7 separate regions of the Homo sapiens genome follow, and all the other regions are linked to region 1. The links are contacts of gene promoters, found by promoter capture Hi-C in blood cells and fetal thymus (Javierre and others, 2016). All regions are on one chromosome and are shown on one strand. The core of a region is centred on a gene start or on the middle of the fragment in contact, and the rest is flanking DNA. Distances in the headings are between cores, read along the strand shown. Region 1 holds the start of CHORDC1 (cysteine and histidine rich domain containing 1). Region 2 overlaps MED17 (mediator complex subunit 17). Region 3 has its middle 15 kb from the start of MED17. Region 4 overlaps TAF1D (TATA-box binding protein associated factor, RNA polymerase I subunit D). Region 5 overlaps CEP295 (centrosomal protein 295). Region 6 has its middle 3.5 kb from the start of CEP295. Region 7 has its middle 3.5 kb from the start of SMCO4.

What was found. The method cuts DNA at HindIII sites, captures the fragments that hold promoters and counts their contacts. A CHiCAGO score of 5 or more calls a contact.
Region 2: a fragment that was not itself captured here is called in contact with the fragment with the promoter of CHORDC1 in region 1 in 3 of 17 cell types (non-activated CD4 T cells, total CD4 T cells and total CD8 T cells); the score reaches 7.5 in non-activated CD4 T cells.
Region 3: a fragment that was not itself captured here is called in contact with the fragment with the promoter of CHORDC1 in region 1 in 4 of 17 cell types (non-activated CD4 T cells, activated CD4 T cells, total CD4 T cells and 1 more); the score reaches 7.3 in non-activated CD4 T cells.
Region 4: a contact is called between a fragment that was not itself captured here and the fragment with the promoter of CHORDC1 in region 1, in 7 of 17 cell types (total CD4 T cells, non-activated CD4 T cells, naive CD8 T cells and 4 more). The highest score is 13.6, in total CD4 T cells.
Region 5: a contact is called between a fragment that was not itself captured here and the fragment with the promoter of CHORDC1 in region 1, in 2 of 17 cell types (total CD8 T cells and activated CD4 T cells). The highest score is 5.6, in total CD8 T cells.
Region 6: a contact is called between a fragment that was not itself captured here and the fragment with the promoter of CHORDC1 in region 1, in 7 of 17 cell types (total CD4 T cells, naive CD8 T cells, activated CD4 T cells and 4 more). The highest score is 21.7, in total CD4 T cells.
Region 7: a contact is called between a fragment that was not itself captured here and the fragment with the promoter of CHORDC1 in region 1, in 1 of 17 cell types (non-activated CD4 T cells). The highest score is 7.3, in non-activated CD4 T cells.

Annotation. Positions count from the first base shown.
Region 1 is chr11:90,221,735-90,224,375 of GRCh38, forward strand. CHORDC1 (cysteine and histidine rich domain containing 1) reads right to left here and starts at 1,315. Exons shown (of 11, transcript NM_012124.3): 1 at 1,157-1,315. The coding sequence starts at 1,220. It overlaps LOC124902812 (a long non-coding RNA gene), which reads left to right and starts at 1,425. Exons shown (of 2, transcript XR_007062978.1): 1 at 1,425-1,686. The HindIII fragment of the contact is 11,072 bases long and covers 1-2,641 here.
Region 2 is chr11:93,792,499-93,795,139 of GRCh38, forward strand. It overlaps MED17 (mediator complex subunit 17), which reads left to right. Exons shown (of 12, transcript NM_004268.5): 4 at 1,230-1,366; 5 at 1,453-1,537; 6 at 2,410-2,562. It also overlaps the pseudogene LOC124902851. Among named protein-coding and RNA genes, the nearest start is that of MED17, 9.5 kb to the left of the region's middle. The HindIII fragment of the contact is 6,811 bases long and covers 1-2,641 here.
Region 3 is chr11:93,767,630-93,770,270 of GRCh38, forward strand. No RefSeq gene overlaps it. Among named protein-coding and RNA genes, the nearest start is that of MED17, 15 kb to the right of the region's middle. The HindIII fragment of the contact is 822 bases long and covers 897-1,718 here.
Region 4 is chr11:93,736,850-93,739,490 of GRCh38, forward strand. It overlaps TAF1D (TATA-box binding protein associated factor, RNA polymerase I subunit D), which reads right to left. Exons shown (of 6, transcript NM_024116.4): 2 at 2,388-2,482; 3 at 1,260-1,650; 4 at 215-390. The coding sequence starts at 2,455. Among named protein-coding and RNA genes, the nearest start is that of SNORA40, 2.9 kb to the left of the region's middle. RefSeq lists an enhancer at 1,069-2,268. The HindIII fragment of the contact is 2,451 bases long and covers 63-2,513 here.
Region 5 is chr11:93,675,003-93,677,643 of GRCh38, forward strand. It overlaps CEP295 (centrosomal protein 295), which reads left to right. Exons shown (of 30, transcript NM_033395.2): 6 at 569-664. Among named protein-coding and RNA genes, the nearest start is that of CEP295, 15 kb to the left of the region's middle. The HindIII fragment of the contact is 913 bases long and covers 900-1,812 here.
Region 6 is chr11:93,656,864-93,659,504 of GRCh38, forward strand. No RefSeq gene overlaps it. Among named protein-coding and RNA genes, the nearest start is that of CEP295, 3.5 kb to the right of the region's middle. The HindIII fragment of the contact is 4,500 bases long and covers 1-2,641 here.
Region 7 is chr11:93,545,593-93,548,233 of GRCh38, forward strand. It overlaps a transcript of SMCO4 not described here. Among named protein-coding and RNA genes, the nearest start is that of SMCO4, 3.5 kb to the left of the region's middle. The HindIII fragment of the contact is 1,062 bases long and covers 789-1,850 here.

The DNA of each region.
Region 1 (2,641 bases), core at 65-2,564:
TGAGTATTGCATAGGTTGGATTTTCCTTTTCCTTAAAACTCTGTATCAATGGTCTTATTTTAAATAACGCTATCAATTTACCTGTGTGCCAAAAATAAGTATTTCAAACATCTCAGAGGTGAAGAGTTCAAAAGGCATCAGTTTTCATCTCCTCCACAATAATGAAGGATGTTATTAATACAACCTCATTGAACTGAGCTTCTCTATCAAATGGGTCTAATTAACATTACATGCGTCCCAGGGTGGTTATGAAGATTAAATAAGATAAAGCAATAATGGCTGGCATGCAGAAAATATAAACTAAATGCTAGTTCAATCTGAAAACGTGTTGTCACTTCTCACGATACGCAAGGAATCATCTCACTTCTTTGTCAATCAAAATTTCAATTCACTGATCATTTCCCGTCCTTCACCTAATAGTCATTTTCGCTTTGGATCCTTAACTCGACATCTAGGTGCTGTAGATGACATTCACTCATTTTATACGGGAGTAGGCATGGTAGTAAAACGTGGAGGCCACAAGAAGAACAAGCAACAAATGCCGCTAGTAATAAAAAGATAACTAACGTACCACCAGGATGAACCTATCAAAACAGCGTGAAGATACAGAGTAATGTCCCTTACCAAGAACACTTGTAAGAGGTTTGTAACAGCGGATCGACTGAACACAAACTTCTACAAGGCAGAGCTTACATGCTAGGACAACCCGCTGCTCATCCCGGCCACCTCTCCCTCTCGCGCAGGCAATCACAGCCATCACTACTTCGGGAACTACAAAGCAAGCTCACCAGTACCTCGTTAATTTTTGCTTCCCCAGAGACTGGAGGGCCAGAGGAGAAACGTGTTCGTTCTAAATTCCAGGCGACTTAAAAGGAGTGCGGGGACGACGGGGGAAACACGTGGATCCATGGGAGCGTCTCTCTCCGCAGTGGCAGAGGACAGTCAGGCGCCGGGGCCGGGCGCTCGCCAAGGGAACGCGGCGCAACAGAGGGGCGGCCGGCGGGCTGCGCGGGCAGCCAAGGGAGGCCCAGGAGGGGCATGGACCTGGGGCCGCGCGAGGACGGCTGCAGGAGATCCGCGGACACCCTCCGGCCCAAAGGGCCTCCCCTGCTGATGAGGTGGAGGGGAGGGAGGGCTGGCGGCGCGTTCCTCTTACCGTCGGAATTGGTCTCAGGATCGAAGCGCTGACCGCAGCCCCGGTTGTAGCACAGCAAGGCCATTTTCTTTTCCCACCGTCACAGGCAAGGCCCAAACACCGGGAACGGCAAGAGGATGCGTTTGCCACTCCCGTGTCGCTAGCACCGGTCTGACGACTGAGGCGGCTACCGGCTTCCGGAAACGATCCGTTGCGTTTCAGGAACCTTCGCGAATTTTCCGGTCGCGCAGGCGCAGAGGAGAAGGGACGAGGCGGAGGTAGCGGCGGGAGGCTGGCACTAGCCCGGGCCACGATAGGTCGGACTACAGCTGGTAGCAACTGGGGGTCGGAAGTGGAGCCCAGACAACAGCGGAGGAGAAATTTCCGGGGCAGAAAATGAAGGTGTCCGAGAGACTGACAATTCTCTTCTGACTTCCTCAGTGCTAACTGGCTTTGGGTATCTCCTGCAGCAAAGTGGCCGCCCCGCCCTCTCATCCCCTGCGACCCAGCACCCTTCTTCCTTGCCTTGAGGCTGCGCCTTAGACAGCCCGGTGGGTATCTGTTTACCCCTTAGCACTAAGGGATAAGTGCACAGTAAGTGCAGAATCATACAGTGTTTCCAAATCCTCAGGGTAGACGTGTGAGCTTAGTAAATGAGAGGAATAGCGGACGAACCTCTCCGTGTGTTTGTGTCTCGAGTGCCCTCATCTCAGGAGCAATTTTAATAACTTAACAGTTGCGGTCACATTACTTTGAAAATACAAAAAACGTAGAAATCAGAGTAGCAAAGAAAATTATGGATCTGATGCTGTGCCAGAATTGATCACAGTTGCTCTAAAGCCCTGGGGTAATAGTTAATATTTCATGTGAGCCTCCACTTAAACGATTTATCAATACTCAGTACACCACTCTTGGAACAGCTAGTAAAACTTCAGGTGCATTATAAAAAGTACAGTAATGCATTGGCTTCAACTTGCATATTTCCCAAACATGGGCGTTTGCAAGAAAAGCAAACACTTTTTGATAACATATACTGAAGGATCTTAAAATAAGATCAGCAGCTTATAAGTGAACCTAAAAATCTATACACTGTTTCCATTGATCTCAAGGTTATTTAGAGATCTGCTCACGTCCTCCTACCCCTAAAGACTTTTTAGTTTTTCATATTCTCTTTCTCTTCTTCTACCTAGAAGTATTAAATTTTCATATTGTGATCCACCATAGATAGGTATGTTTTCTTCATTTAACCTAACGTGAGTATTTTTCTATTTTGTTTCATAGTCATTGTTACAAATGACGGAGTATTCTGTTGAATAAATGCACTGTAATTTAACCTTTCTCTAATTTCCCCAACTTTATTATATATAAGTTACAGTGCTCAACCTGTGTATTGTTTTTCTTATTTCGAATTTCCCCCTTTAGGAAAATTTTTGGAAAGCGACAGTTCTGGGGTAAAGGGCATAAGGCTTTTTAAATAACTTTAAGATTTTAAAGATATATAGAGCC
Region 2 (2,641 bases), core at 51-2,550, 3.6 Mb after region 1:
TGATCACATTGTTTTTAATTGCAAGAAAATCTTTAGCATCTTCCCTTGTTATAAAACCAGTTACATTGAACCACCTATTTCTTATGTAATTCAATGGCCCAGAACAACTTACCCAAACTCCTGACCTACACAAAAACACATCACATAAAATCTAGGAACTGGGCTGGGCATGGGGGCTCACACCTGTAATCTCAGCACTTTGGGAGGCCAAGGTGGGAGGATTGCTTGAGCCCAGGAGTTCAAAACCAGACTGAACAACATAGACCCTATCTCTAAGAAAAAAAACTTAAAAATTAGCTGGGTGTGATGGCATGTACCTGCAGTCCTAGTTACTTGGGAGGCTGAAGTGGGAGGATTGTTAAATCCTAGGAGTTTGAGGCTGCAGTGAGCTATGATTACACCACCACACTGCAGCCTGGAAGACAGAGGGAGACCTTGTCTCTAAAAAGATAATAAAAAATAAAAAATCTAGGAAACTGGTTGAAAAAAAGATGTTATGTGCACTATCCTCTGTCTTTCTGTTGTTGGATGCAGAGCACTTAGTTGAAACCTTAGTAGAGAGGCTAAGCTCCAGAAGTATTTCATCCCCAAGGTTTCATTTCTAGGAGTACACCTCTTTTTTTTTTTTTTTTTTTTTGAGACAGAGTTTCGCTCTTGTTGCCCAGGCTAGAGGGCAATGGCGCGATCTCAGCTCACCACAACCTCCATCTCCCGGGTTCAAGCAATTCTGCCTTAGCCTCCTCAGTAGCTGGGATTACAGGCATGTGCCACCACGCCCAGTTAATTTTGTATTTTTAGTAGAGATGGGGATTTCTCCATGTTGGTCTTGGCTGGTCTTGAACTCCTGACCTCAGGTGATCCATCCGCCTCGTCCTCCCAAAGTGCTGGGATTACAGGCATGAGCCACCATGCCTGCCCTGTGAGTACACCCATTTTTATCAATACTCCATTGGAATAAAACAATTTGGATTTTCTGTGGAATTCTTATTATGTTGATGTCATTAGACTAAGAAGTGTTTTTTTTTTTTAAGGTAAATAACCACCCCCCACCTTTATCTTTCTTTCCTTTGTTCACCATTCCTCACCCTTTTCCCCCAAAACATATGTTTTTTAGTGGGGACTTACTTTGTGATTCAGTGATGTGGATGTGAAGTATTATATATTTAATAATGTGTGTCGGAATAATATGTTAACTGTTTTATATTTTCCTATTTTTAATACAACATTAGGATCTCTCTTTCCTCATCATGGTACATTTGAAGTAATAAAGAATACAGATCTCGATCTGGATAAAAAGATACCTGAAGATTACTGTCCTCTTGATGTCCAAATTCCTAGTGATTTAGAGGGGTCTGCATATATCAAGGTATTTGTCAAAATATTTTTCAAGTAATTTCTTACGAATAGCCTGAAGTTAATTTGTTAACTTTTTTTGTTTTTGTTGTCATATAGGTTTCAATACAAAAACAGGCTCCAGATATAGGTGACCTCGGCACAGTTAACCTCTTCAAACGACCTTTGCCCAAATCCAAACCAGGTATGGTTATGTTCTATTCTCTAATTTCTGGTCTTATTTGAGCTGACATTTTAAAATAAACTGAAGATAAATATAGGTAGGAAAAAATAGATAGTTTGAAGTAAGAACAATTCAAAATATACTTCTAAAATTTATCAATAAACTATTAGTGAATAGCTGTGCAATTTTTTTTTTTTTTTTTTTTTTGAGACCAAGTTTCTCTCTTGTTGCCCAGGCTAGAGTGCAATGGCGCAGTCTCGGCTCACCGCAACGTCTACCTCCCAGGTTCAAGCGATTCTCCTGCCTCAGCCTCCCGAGTAGCTGGGATTACAGGCATGCGCCACCATTCCTGGCTAATTTTGTATTTTTAGTAGAGATGGGGTTTCTCCATGTTGGTCAGGCTGGTCTCGAACACCCAACCTCAGGTAATCCACCCGCCTTAGCCTCCCAAAGTGCTAGGATTACAGGCATGAGCCACCAGCACCTTTTTTTAAGATTGGACTTATTTACTGGTTTTTTGTGTTAAAGAAGTGAGATTTTTATATTTTGGAAAGAATATAGCTTTGCACAGTGGCAGTATCAAACCCAGTGAGGTTTATCTGTGGCATGATTATTGCTAATTGATACTTCCCTCTACAGGAATTTAAACTTTCCTCTTCAGGAATGAAAGATTGGGGTGGTGGGGAACTTCTCAATACCCTGCCGGGATGATTTGTAACACAGTTGGCATTGGCAATTTTTGACAGTCTCTATAGAGACTGAATAGGAAAAAAAAGAATATACCGTAATGTAGTGTTTTCCTAAACTTTTGTCATATGTATTCAGATCACCATTTAAACTAGTTAATGCATAATATGGTTAGATAATTGATACATATATTTCTTGTCTTTCAGGTTCCCCACATTGGCAGACAAAATTAGAAGCGGCACAGAATGTTCTCTTATGTAAAGAAATTTTTGCACAGCTCTCTCGGGAAGCTGTTCAAATTAAATCACAAGTCCCTCACATTGTGGTGAAAAACCAGATTATCTCTCAGCCCTTTCCGAGTAAGAGCAGCCCTTTTTCGACTTTATGAACAGGACTTTGTGTTTTGGGGGACTAGGACAGAGAAGGTAGCTCTTAGGG
Region 3 (2,641 bases), core at 58-2,557, 3.5 Mb after region 1:
CCTGGGAGGTGGAGCTTGCAGTGAGCCGAGATCGCGCCACTGCACTCCAGCCTGGGCGACAGAGTGAGACTCCGTCTTAAAAAAAAAATTTTTTTTTCTTTCTTTTTCCTTTTTTTTTTTTTTTTTTTGAGAGAGGGTATGGCTCTGTTACCCAGGCTAGAGTGCAATGGCATGATCTCAGCTCACTGCAACCTCTGCCTCCCAGGCTCAAACCATCCTCCCACCTTAGCCTCCAGAGTAGCTGGGACTACAGGCACATGCCACACCCAGCTAATTTTTATTTTATTTTATTTTATTTTTTTATTTTAGAGGCAGGGTTTCATCACATTGCCCAGCCTGGTCTCGAACTCCTGGACTCAAGTGCTCCTCCCACTTCAGCCTCCCAAAATTCTGGGTACAGACATGAGCCACTGTTCCCATCCTGCCTGCTTCCCTTTGCCTTTGCCCCATGATTGTAAGTTTCCTGAGGCCTCCCCAGAAGCAGAAGCCTGTATAACCTGCAGAATCATGAGCCCATTAAACCTTTTTTATAAATTACCCTGTCTCAGGTATGTCTTTACAGCATGCGAGAACAGACTGATACAACACCGAAATGCAGATTTCCATTTGCTTTTGGTTTTAAAGCTCAGCTTCCTTTTAGTTTACCTGTAAAGCCTCTGTGTGGCCTAATCTTTCATTCAGTAGCAATTTACTATTACATACTATACTAGGTGCTCTGGTACATGCTGTAGTGGTATTAGTATATAGTAGTATGTACTCTACTGGTATATATGGTACATATTGTACTGGTACATACTGTGCCAGGTACTAGGAATACAAAGATGAATAAGACATAGTCCCTGACCTGGAAGAGCTTGGTCTAGTGGGGACACTGACATGCATAGAGGAGAAGACCAAGCTTCCCTTTCACTCTTTCTGAAGGCTCATTGAAAATAAACTGACAAAAAGCAGACTAACAGGAGAAAACGGCATACAAACTTTATTTAGTGTGCATAAGCATGAGGGAACCTCAGGAGAATGACTACTCAATAATCCAATGAGGTCCAGATGTTTATATACCCTTCTTCATAGAGGAAGGGGAGATGGTGGGCACGGGGGTATAGGAGTAAAAGATTTTTAGGGAAAATGAATGAGCTCCAAGAACAATGGCCTGGAAGAAAGTTATTTTGAACTCTGGGGGAGGTGGCAGGAAGATGAGGGGCAGAACTTTACTGTGAGCAAAGGTTATCTTACATAGATAATGTCTCCCAGGTAATCCTCGTGGAGCTGCACTCACAAGAATAAATGAAAAATCCAGATCGGGCACGGTGGCTCATGCCTGTAATTCCAGCACTTTGGGAGGCCGAGGCGGGTGGATCACCTGAGGTCAGGAGTTTGAGACCAGCCTGGCCAACATGGAGAAACCCCATCTTTACTAAAAATACAAAAATTAACCAGGCATGGTGGCAGGCACCTGTAATTTCAGCTACTCCGGAGGCTGAGGCAGAAGAATCACTTGAACGTGGGAGGCAGAAGTTGCAGTGAGCTGAGATCATGCCACTGCACTCCAGCCTGGGTGACAGAGTGAGACTCTGTCTCAAAAAAAAAAAAAAAAAAGCCTGCCTGGACATGGTGACAACTCCCAGTGTCATCTTTTTGGTGGTTAACCTGTTCTGGTTATTTGATGAGATTCCTAGAGAGGGGATTCACTGCTTTTTTTTTTTTTTTTTTTGGAAAGAAGCTTCCCTGCTCACAAAAGGAAGTTCCAGAGTCCTTCCAGAAGCTTCAGAAAAGGAAGAAGATCAGAGAGATGGGGAAGCTGAGGAAGGTCAGAGAGATCCCTTGGTTCTGAGGCTTATTTCTGAGACCTTTTAATATTCCTTAATTCAAAACATTCAGCATGCCAAAGTGCTATATTTTACAATTTTGTTTTCTAAGCCCCAACTCAGGTGAAAAAATAATTGAAATAAAATAGAATAAATCCTATCAGTATTGCCCTATATTGTTTTTTGTTTGTTTTTTGTCTTTTGAGATGGAGTCTTACTCCATTGCCCAGGCTGGAGTGCAATGGTGCAATCCTGGCTCACTGCAATCTCCGCCTCCCAGGTTCAAGTGATCCTCCTGTCTTGGCCTCTGGAGTAGCTGGGACTACAGGCATACACCACCAGGCCCAGCTAATTTTTGTATTTTTAGTGGAGACGGGGTTTTGCCATGTTGGCCAGGCTGGTCTCGAACTCCTGACCTCAGGTAATCCGCCTGCCTCAGCCTCCCAAAGTGCTTGGATTACAGGCGTGAGCCACTGCACCCGGCCAGTATTGCCCTATATTGTACTGTACACTGTTAAATTAAGTTTAGCCTAAAAGCTGCCTCCTTACATATTTTAAGTTTGGCCTAAAAGTTTCTCCATACCTAGTGAAATGTAATCTAACTGGATGTGTAAATGGACTTGTGAAAGGAAAATAAATCTTGGAACCCCAAAATCACTAAGCCAAAAGAAAAGTCAAGCTGGGAACTATGTCAGACACCTGCCTCCCATTTTATTCCTAAATAAGACAGCTACAAAGAGAAGAAGCTATATACCTCCCTCACAATTGTCCACAATACCTTGTGGACAAAGGACAGACAGAACTCAAAGTCATCCCTCTGAGGCTCACCTGAGACA
Region 4 (2,641 bases), core at 38-2,537, 3.5 Mb after region 1:
CAAAGGAAACACAAAATTTGAGAATTTTGTGTTCTGGAGAATTCTAGATGAACGGTGTGCCAAGCTTGGCTCAACTGTAATAATCCCAATTGTCATACTCTGTATCTTTGTTCATTATTTAAGTATAACTATATTAAAGGCAAAATATGAAGCAATTAACATAGAAATTTAATTTATAACCTATTACCAAAGTATTTCATATGATTCCACTTACGTTGACTCCTCAATAGGAGAAATGGATCCATCATCATCCAAAAATTTGTATCTACGACTGTCAAAATCTTCATTTTCTAAATCTTCACCAACATTCATTTGCTTCAATGATTCTTTCAGGTGGTGTTCATACTTCAGTTTTTCAATATAGTTAAAAAATCCTCTTGCAACAGCTTGCTATATATTAAAAACACCATAAGTATGTCGAGATTTTATTTTTAAGACCCAGCAGGTGCCTATGTTCAAAAAGGGCAATGCCCCCCCTTAGCAAAGACTCTGAATTTGCTATCTTAACTACTCCCCACTTGTGGACTTATCAAATGCTGATTATTAAAATTCACATTACAATTATGAATTTACCTAAGCTGGTAACATGGAAAAGTGAAGTACATATCTTGTCATGTCTGGGACTTACTAAAGGCATTTTAAAATGTAAAAACAGGAATAAGATTTCTAATGTTTACTATAATCACCTTAAACTTAAGAGATTAACTGAAGAGATTAACATGTATTAATCCTCCCAAATAAAATTTCAGGTTCTGGCAAGGGATCATAAATTAATTCTGAATTCATTCAACATACAACTCTCAAATATTTAAAAAAGTCTACTCCTAAGTATTAGCGTATTTTTCAGATAATTGGCTTAGAAACATCTAGGCCTTAAGAATATATCCACTGAACATAAGGCATGTGTGGTTTTAGTTTAGGTTACTGCAAAAGTAATTTCAAGTTATGTGAGCTTTTATTATCCCCACTGAGTTTTAGGGTTGTGTTTAAAGACCTGAGATGGGATAAGATCAAAGGATTTTATACAAAGAGCCTTGGAGCACTATCTTTTAAATATGGCAAAGTGTAGTTATATTAAGAGATACAAGTCAAGATTCAGTTGAAGGATAGGGTGGACTTTAGGGGTAAGTCAGTATAGAAGAGTATCAAAATTGCAGACAGTCTGTTCCCAGTATATCTGAGACAATTCTAAATTGGCCAACAAATCATTTTGGGCATCTTGAGTTATGTGTAGCCATGTATGTAAAATGCTGACTCACCTCAAACGTTAAAATTTTTCTCCAAGGTGCGTTTTTTTCATTCTCTGATTCTAAAAATGGGAAGCCAGATCCTCTGCTTCTAAATTGTTTCTTCTTATCTATTAGTGAGTATATAGGATTTCTCCTTCCTTCTGGTCTTCCCCGTGGTCTTCCTGTTGGCTGGTACCTCCTCTTTTTCTTTTTTTTATATCTCTTTTTCCTGTTCTTGAATCTTTCAAAAATAGCTTTTATAGTCAATGGTATTGGTTCAAAAGATGAGTCACTTGATGAATCACTTGCGTGAACACTTTCAGGTGTACGAACAAATTTTCGAATGGGGTTTCTTTTCTCCCCTTTAGGTGAGTAAGGGATACACTGAGTTTTAAATAAGCTGCTATCAGAAGAGTTATCACTAGAAAAATGGGAAAAAAATTAATTTCATCTTCTTTTCTTACTGCTTATTACCATTAATACCCAGTCCTAAATGTACATTTCTTCCAAGACCAACTCAGAAAACATGCCCAGAATTAAAAATTTTTTAAAGGATGGGCTCAGAACCAGCTAGCCTTTCTACTGATCATCCTATTTAAATAGCCCATAATGCTACAGCTCTTATTAAAGAGTTTTGTAGACATCGTCTTGCTGTCACCCAGACTGGAGTGCAGTGGTGCAATCACAGCTCACTGCAACCTCAAACTCCTGGAAACTCCAGGGATGCTCCTGCCTCAGCCTCCCAAGTAGCTAGCTAGGACTAATGGCATGCACCACTATGCTCAGCTTACAAAAAAACTGTATCTTTCAAGACAATGTATGAGCTCCAAAAGGCTGTATGGTTCGGTTCACTGCTAAGAGTGTCTGAGTAAAACAAACACAGCCTACCGAACCGGAGGATGTAGTCTGGAAGAGATGCTAATATGACCCAAAGAATACATTTTTTCTCGACGAATGTGTCCCATAATATATTCACATTTTGAATTTAAAGTATTTGCAATGCTATTATATCAATCTATGTAACTAGATAAACTTGGAAGGTCAGTGAAATCTAGTTTTCCTTCTTTCCCAATTCCTGAAAATTATCTTTACTGTCACTCATTATATACAATAGTTTCTCATAATTCAGATACAATAAACATGATTGAATCCACTCACCTTCGATTTGCAAGTTCCACAGCATCAGATGTCACATGGTCAAGAGAATCTATTCCTGATTTATCCATCAATTGCTCTTTGTTTTAAACAGTTTTCTGAAATTATGAAATTTAGTAAATATGACAAAGCTTCCCTAAATATTGACAGTATCTACTACAGTGTTGAACGTGGTCAGACTATGCCAATGATTTCAGGCGAAATCATTTACCAAGGTTAAGCTTCTTATCCATTTCAGATCAGTTTCTTTAAAAAGA
Region 5 (2,641 bases), core at 106-2,605, 3.5 Mb after region 1:
ACAAAATACAGGAAAGGGAAGGGGGAAGGTAGTTTACTTTCATTCTTCTGAGAGTTGTTTTGTTCTGGAGTAAGTGTAATTTAAATATATTGGCAAGTGTTTCAGGACCAAAATTCAAAATACGTCATTAAACATTGAGAAAATAAGACTAATGTGAACTACAGTAGAATTTTTGTGATTAGATATGGAAGAGGACATAGTAGTGCATGTTGTTGTCTTATAAATATAATGAAGTGCTTTTCATTTCATTTGATATGGCCTGTAAGCCCTTCTATATTCAGGAGATTTAAAGATGAAATTTCTCTATAAATAACTTAAAAATTGAGATGAATAAAACACATTTAGTTAGCGACACCTTGAAGATGATTTGAAATACTGATGAATCTGGTACTTTTATTAAAATTTGAAGTAATTTAACTCAAAAAATTTGATTTCATTATGAGCAGATATTTAGCATGTTTTGGATGCGGAGAACTCATTAAAATACAAAATTACTTTTTTTGCATTGGATTCAGCTTTAAGTGAAAATTAATGCTTTTAACCTATTTTTTTATGTTCTCTTTTCCAGAACATCGAAGTAAAAAGAATTTCTGCAGTCAAAACCAATAGTTCTACCTACCATCATCTTCACACTTTTGTGAATAGAGAGACAGACACAAAACGGGTGATTGACTTATTGTTTCTTCATGCCCTCGCTTTATTATTTCTGTGTGCATTGAATTGAATTATATCTTAGTTATATGTATGGTGTTCCCAGATTTCAAAATTTGGACAATTGATAATAATAATCAAAACCTTTTAAATGCTTTGAATTTTCATGTCAGGCATATGATGGTTTAATATGAATTAAAGAAACTAGTTGGCTATTTAAATGGTTATTTTAAAATAGCAGATTTTAAAGCTTTTTTTATCATAAAATATTACATGCTATTTGTGGAAAATTTGGAACTGTACATATAAGTGTAAACTATTGGGAAAACACCAATTCTGTCACCAAAGTGGAATATAGTTAATGTTTTAATAAATTCATTATAACCTTTATTTAAATATAAACATATACACACACTTTTCAAAACATGATTTTTAGTGGCCACTTAATATTTCATGGTAGCATTTATTTAACCATTATTTTATTTTTTGCTTCTGTAAGTAATGTAAGCATTATCTTGCACGTTTTTATCCACATCTCTGATTATATATAAATTCCTGAAAGAGAAAGTATTGGCTCCAAACTGTGTAACATTTGATACAGATCATTAAATTGCTTTTTAAAAGCATCAGCAACATAGGAGAATGACCACCTTACCATAGCCTTTTCTGCACTGAATATTATGTTTTAAAAATTATTGCCAGTCTTAAGAGTAACAAATGATATATTGTTATTATAATTGCTATTTCTCTGTGTCAGTGGGGGTTTTAATTTTTTTCATGTTGAATATATTTCTCTACTAGGAAAATAAATTTTATAGCATTCCTGTGGCATTTAGAATGCAACAAATACACATTTTGGTTGACTGCTTAATAGCAGGTATTAAAATATTCAGTTAAGAACTAAAATGAATATCATCACAGAATGAACTTCTAAGATGCAAGAGTAAATCTGAGATTTATTTAAAATTGTAAAGTATTATTACAGTTTCGATATTATGATGTAGGAACAATAACTTCAATTTGTTGCTAACTGCTTTACTGTTTACTGCATTTTTGTGATTTGAAAAGATGCTACCTTTTAACTAAGATTGATGATGAATTTTTTTTTACCTAACTCTGTCAGCATAGGGTGCTGCTGATGGTATTAAATTAATATCCATAAGCTTTCTTTTTTGATAGTAACCAGAAGGCCTACCTCCTTTTCAATTTTTGGACTTAAAAATTAGATCAGTAGTTATAATGATAAAGGGTTAGAAAAAAGTTCGGGACCACAAACAAATTTTGTTTCTAACAGTTTTATGAAAGTATTCCCACAAACTAAAGCTTTGTGTACTGAATGAAGATATGATTTCTGAATATTTTCAGAAATGGGTTTATTACTGAACACATTTTTATTCGAATATTTTCTTTTATTTGCTGCTTTACTGTATCACTTAGGAAAAGTCTGTCCTTAAACTTTGGATTTAAAATGTGATGACCAATGTGCTTGGCTTTCAAGATAAAATTACCTCTGAATTTTCATCTGCACTCAACTTATATCACATGCACAATAATTTTAGCATCTTCCCTGGAGGAGTACGATATGATCTTTACAGCAGGTATCATATAAAAAATATTTGCACGCTTGGCATATATGTTTGGGTATTTTTCTTTAGCAGCTTTCTGCAAATAAACTTTCATTTGTTCAGTCAGCCTTTTTAGCACATAAGAGCTGCTATTGTGTGTGTGTGTGTTTTTAATATCCTGATAAAGTAATTCCAAAATCTTTTATATGTCATAATATATATCTTTGGCTGAAGAAGATTTATGAAAGTGGCCTGCTGTAGTCCTACTTACAGCCAGTAATTCTCTACATTTTGTTTTGCTACATTCGCTACCTCTACACACAACTGAACAAAACATCATACGCTTAAAAGTCCTACATTACATATTCATGGGCTTCATCATGTCTATTCTTTGTCAGTGACAGTTACGTAGCATTTTTTTCAAA
Region 6 (2,641 bases), core at 37-2,536, 3.4 Mb after region 1:
GTGGCTCAATTCCTTGGCTCAACTCCTACCCTATACCTCTAAAAAATATTTACAGCTTTTAAAAGTTTTTCTCAGCCTATCCTTCCTCTCCTGCCTGGCACTCTTAATTTCACTCCTGGTAGTAGCTCTAAATTATTCTACCGAGACACCGTCACTTGTTAAGCTCCTGTGGTGTGTATATTAGGGAGAAAGAGGGCAGTTAGCATATGGTCAGATGGAAGTTCTTTGATTACTTTTGTTCTTGCAGAGATCCCCCTTTTTTCTGGTGTTTATACATAAGAATTATTGAGGGTTCCTCCCCACTTAAATATCATTTGCTTATATTGGATGTGGATAAAGATGAAACAGTGAAACCGTTGCCATCAGAGAAACATCTTAAACTGTTCAAATCTTAAATGGCTTCAGTTGCATTTTGAAGAGTGGCAGCATTATAAACCAGTGACACTAATGTCATTACTGCTGAGGACAATTCTTCCTCTTGATCACTGGTTACTGAGGTTCATTCTCAATAGGTTAACAATACTAGAAACTAAATACACATACTTCTCCCTAGGCCTAAACTCTACAAAAAGACTGAATTAAAAATCAAACCAGGCCGGGTGTGGTGGCTCATGCCTGTAATCACAGCACTTTGGGAGGCCAAGGTGGGAGGATCACTTGAGTCCAGGAGTTGAAACCAACATGGGCAACAAAGCAATAGCCCATCTCTACTAAAAAAGAAAAAAAAAAATCAAATCCAAAACACCAATAAACACATTTAAGAGTTTGGGTTTTTTTCCCTCTCTTGTATTCTAAAATGAATGTATTAAAATTAAAGCCAAAAAAGGTAACATTTATTGCACATGTTGTGCCAGACATTGTTTCAAGAGCTTTAAACCTCACAAGAACCTGAGTACTTTCACTACATCTCTTTAAGAGATGAGGAAACAGACTTTTAAAGAAGTCCAGTAACTAGCTCAAAGTCACAGAGTTAGCCAGAAATTTAAATCCATTTGGAAGAAATCTATGTAACATTTTTATTTTTCAGACAGGGTCTCACTCAGTTGCCCAAAGTTTACTTACTGCAGTGGCACAATCATAGCTCACTGCAGCCTTGACCTCCTGGGCTCAAGCTATCCTCCCACCTCAGTCTCCCAAGTAGCTAGGACTACAGGTGCACACCACCATACCTGGCTAATTTTTAAATATTTTTGTAGAGATTAAGTCTCCCTATGTTTCCCAGGTTGGTCTCAAACTCCTGGGCTCAAGCAATCCTCCTGCCTCGGCCTTCCAAAGTGCTGGGATTATAGGTGTGAGCCACTGTGCTCAGCCAAGATCTTAAACATTATTCTATACTATCTCCCAAGATGTCCAGATGTGTTTGTCTATGAGAATTTAAATAAAAATCTACAGCCCTTTTTAATTTGCAAAAAAATAGAAATTCCCATTCAAAGCAGCTTCAGTAGAAGACTGAATGGCTGCTACCAGTTTGCTGCAGAATAGGCAGGCATATTGACCTCAGGTATGGCTAGATCCAGGGACTTGAACACTATCCAAATTCTCTCTCTGCGCTCCTTGCTGTCACACTCATTCTTTCAGACCAGCTTGTGGGGGACCACCTGGGAAAGCTCCAGGTTTACATCCTAACATGAGCCCAGAGAGGAAAATATTTGTCTCTGCTGTCTCCAGTGCCAATTCCTGTGAAAGACTCTGATTGCCCCAATTAGGTAACATACCTGTACCTCGGTTGGTCACAATGGCAATGGAAACAAGAACTGCGATTTGTCCAGTCTGGGTCACATGCCTACCCCGGTAGCCTAGAGGTCTGGGTCTGTACCAGAGGAGGAGAGAAAGGTGTTCGACAGAAAAATAAAATAAATAACTGCTAAACTACCTAGTATGTGTATACCCCTCTAGAGTTTACAAAGTGCTCTCATATGATTCATGCCTTTTGAGTCTCACAACCATCCTATAGAGAGGCGACATGAAGTATTACTAAGAAACGTGGTGGATTAAGATGGCTACAAATTCTTTGTCACTGCCTCCATTGAGAGATGGAGTTCATTTCCCTTTCACTTGAATCTGGCCTGGCTCCATGTTACTTAACCAATAAAATGTGATACAACTTACTACAACTCGTTCTCTGCCTCACCTTTTAAAGGACTTGCAGCTTCCACTTTATTCCTCTGCGAATGCTCACTCTTAAGATGCTCCCTCTCCAAACTAGCCACAATAGAGTGAGATGTCCAATCTACATGGACTGGTCATGAGTGGACACTCCAGTCAACAGTTCCAGCTGAGCTCTCAGCTGCCAGCCAACGTCAGCTGCCAGCCATAGTAAGTGACCCATGTTGGACATTCCAGGGTGGTTCGGTTGGCAGCAATTGATCGCCAAAACAGAAATGAAGACTCATTGATTTGAGGTCCCACGGCTAGAAAGTATCTGTGGTAATGCTAAGCCAGATGCTCTGACTCTAAGCCCACTTGGGCTTTGATTCCTCACTGCCTTCTATTAAAAACAGAACAAGTCTCGATTCAAAATCTCCAAGTGTAGAATTTCTGCCAAGGATGCAGGTTGAGGAAGTGAAGCATGTAATTTGGTCATTTATTCAGCTTTGTTCATTTATGCCAGGCAACTGAACAAAGTGCACTCCTGGTTCTC
Region 7 (2,641 bases), core at 70-2,569, 3.3 Mb after region 1:
AAAAAAAAAAAAAAAAAGAGAGAGAGAGAGAAAAGAAAAAGAAAGTGTCATCCTTTATAGGTTAGAGTTGTGTATCTTGCAATGCAAGTCTCAGAGGAAAAGTTTACACATTTTACACTAATGGCTTCTAATGAATCACCCCTACTGAGTTGTCCTTCTGTAGCTCCCTCCCACGTTGACCCTGGAGTTGGCCTTGTGACTTCCTTTAGCTACTGGGACATGAACAAATATGACACAAGCAGGGGCTTTCGATGTGCACTTGTGCCTTGCTCCTTGCTTTCTTGAAATGCTATCCTGAGACTGCCATGAAGAAACCTGGTCCAACTCCTTGAAGAGGAAAGACCCTGAGAAGAGAAAGCCTTGCTGTCCCAGCTATGCAGCCCACCAGCTCTCAGCCACATGAGTGAGCTCCAGGGAAAGCCAGCCAAAAATAGTCCAGCCAACCCAGGAATTGTGAGAAATAAAATGGTGGTTGTTTCAAATCACTAAGTGTTAGGGTGGTTTGTTATACAGTAATAGATAACTGACACACAGATCACTCACAGGCACTCCTGCAGTTACAAGTTCTAGATGAAATTCACCCAAGAATCAGTACTCTTGCTAGCGTTTTCTGTTATGAAGCATTCAGTTGAAGTCACTAAATCTAAGCTTAGCAGAGCATCACACTTCATGTAAATACCCTCTTTGAAAGTTCTTCATTGAATTGGTTACTGAGCCTAGTACTGTTTAAAATCCTTTGGCAGTCAACATAACAATGGGCTGGCAAAATCAGCTTGTAAGCTACCAAAAGCTTTAAACGTTAGAACTCCCTGGAACATCAACAGCAGGTATCATAGAGGTTAGGTGTGTTTATCTCTCCCACTTGATTGTAAGCTCCTTAATGACAATTACATTTATTGGCATGGTTTTATCATAGATCACGAAACATCAGAGATGGAGTTAGAGATCATCTAACCCACCACCTCATTTTACAGATGAGAAAACTGGGGCTAAGAGAAATCATCAGAGCCTTACAAATATCCAAGGTCCTGGAGCTGGCTCAGAGCAGAACTGGGATGACCAATTCACAGTTCTTTACGCTGTTAGTTGAACTCTTCTGTTTTTCCTTTGTGACATTTTTGCTATTTAAAATATTCTTCCCATGCTCAAAATATGTCTGTAACTTTCCTATGTGCTGGTGATAAAATCTAAACGATTATACATGGCCCCATGAGGTCTGGTGCAGCTTGCCCCTACAGAGATATTGGTACTGTTCTGCCCCTCACTCAGCACACTTTGCCCAACTGGCTTTCTTTCTGTTCCCCAAACCAGCAAGCTCTTCTCTTCTTCACAGAAAGCCCCTTCCACATGCTGTTCCTTCCACTGACGTGCTCTTTCCCAAACTCTTCACTTTGCTAAATCCCGCTTTCCAGAACCCATTAGAGTTCTGTGGTACATTATTTGGGAAATAATGTAAACAAAAAAATTTGGTGCACATAGAGGTAGCTCTCAGTCTCTTCAGCCAAGTTTTGGAAAGCTCAAAGACCAAACAGCTCAGGAATCTTATGGAGATTTGATTCCTAACAGACACCTTGTTGAGGCTCAACCAGTGGAACAAGCCACTCTGGTTTTTCTGTTTTTGCATCACTCCACTCAAGATTCCAAACCCTAGAAGAACGTCAGCCTTGGTTAGCTTGGCCACATGCCTACCCTCAGCCAGAGAAGAACAGGACACCTTGAATGAAAGCCTCCAAACATAATCATCAGGGCATTGTTACCAAAGAAGGGAAAGTTGATCAAGGATAACAAAACCAGTGAATGTCCACTACATAATCTCTCGGGCCTTGCCTTAAATGTCGTCTTCTCAGAGAAGCTTTTCTTAACCACCCCATCTGTTGCACGCTTTCATGACACTCCTTGTTTTTTTCACTGTTCTCATCATATTTTTATAGTTACATATTCTCATGTGTTTGTGTCTCTCGAATTCTCCCTCCACGAGAAAAGGGACTGCGTTTGCTTGCCCACTACTATACCTTCAATACCTAGCATGGAGCCTGGTGCATACAGGAACTCAATAAATATGTATTAAATCAATCAATAAATGAGCAAACAAATGAATGAATAATATAAGCCTTGTGAGTCTTCTGACTTAATCCATGTGATATTAACTTTGTAGGAAGAAGGAGAAAAGACAAAGAGAATATAATGAGTGTAGGCTGTGGAAGATTCTCTCTGCTGGGTCCCTTTGTGATGCTGTGGGGAGGACAAAGACTCGTGTGCAGGATAAATGAAGAAACACAACCTTGTGCATCAGAGATAAGCCATGTGTTGTGCTATGCTGTACTGTCCTTGAGGGATAAATTATGCAAGTAATGAAGTAAGAGGGGGAGGCCTAGAATGGTGGTCTGCATGTCTCAGAATGTTTGCAGAAGTAGGAACCCTCAAAACTGCTGCCTGACTGCAGCTGCCAGGAGCTGAGGTCAGGAATGTATGTTCATAAACCTACTCCCTTGGCCCCTGTTCATGCCTGGCTGTGCATTCTCTGTAGCAGAAGTTCCAGAGTTATCTGCCGATGGCTGCAAATCCACAGACAGGTTTTTCACAACTCAGAGGTAAAATGAGAGTAATCAGAGCAATGTAAAGCTAAATGTATGCAATTCTT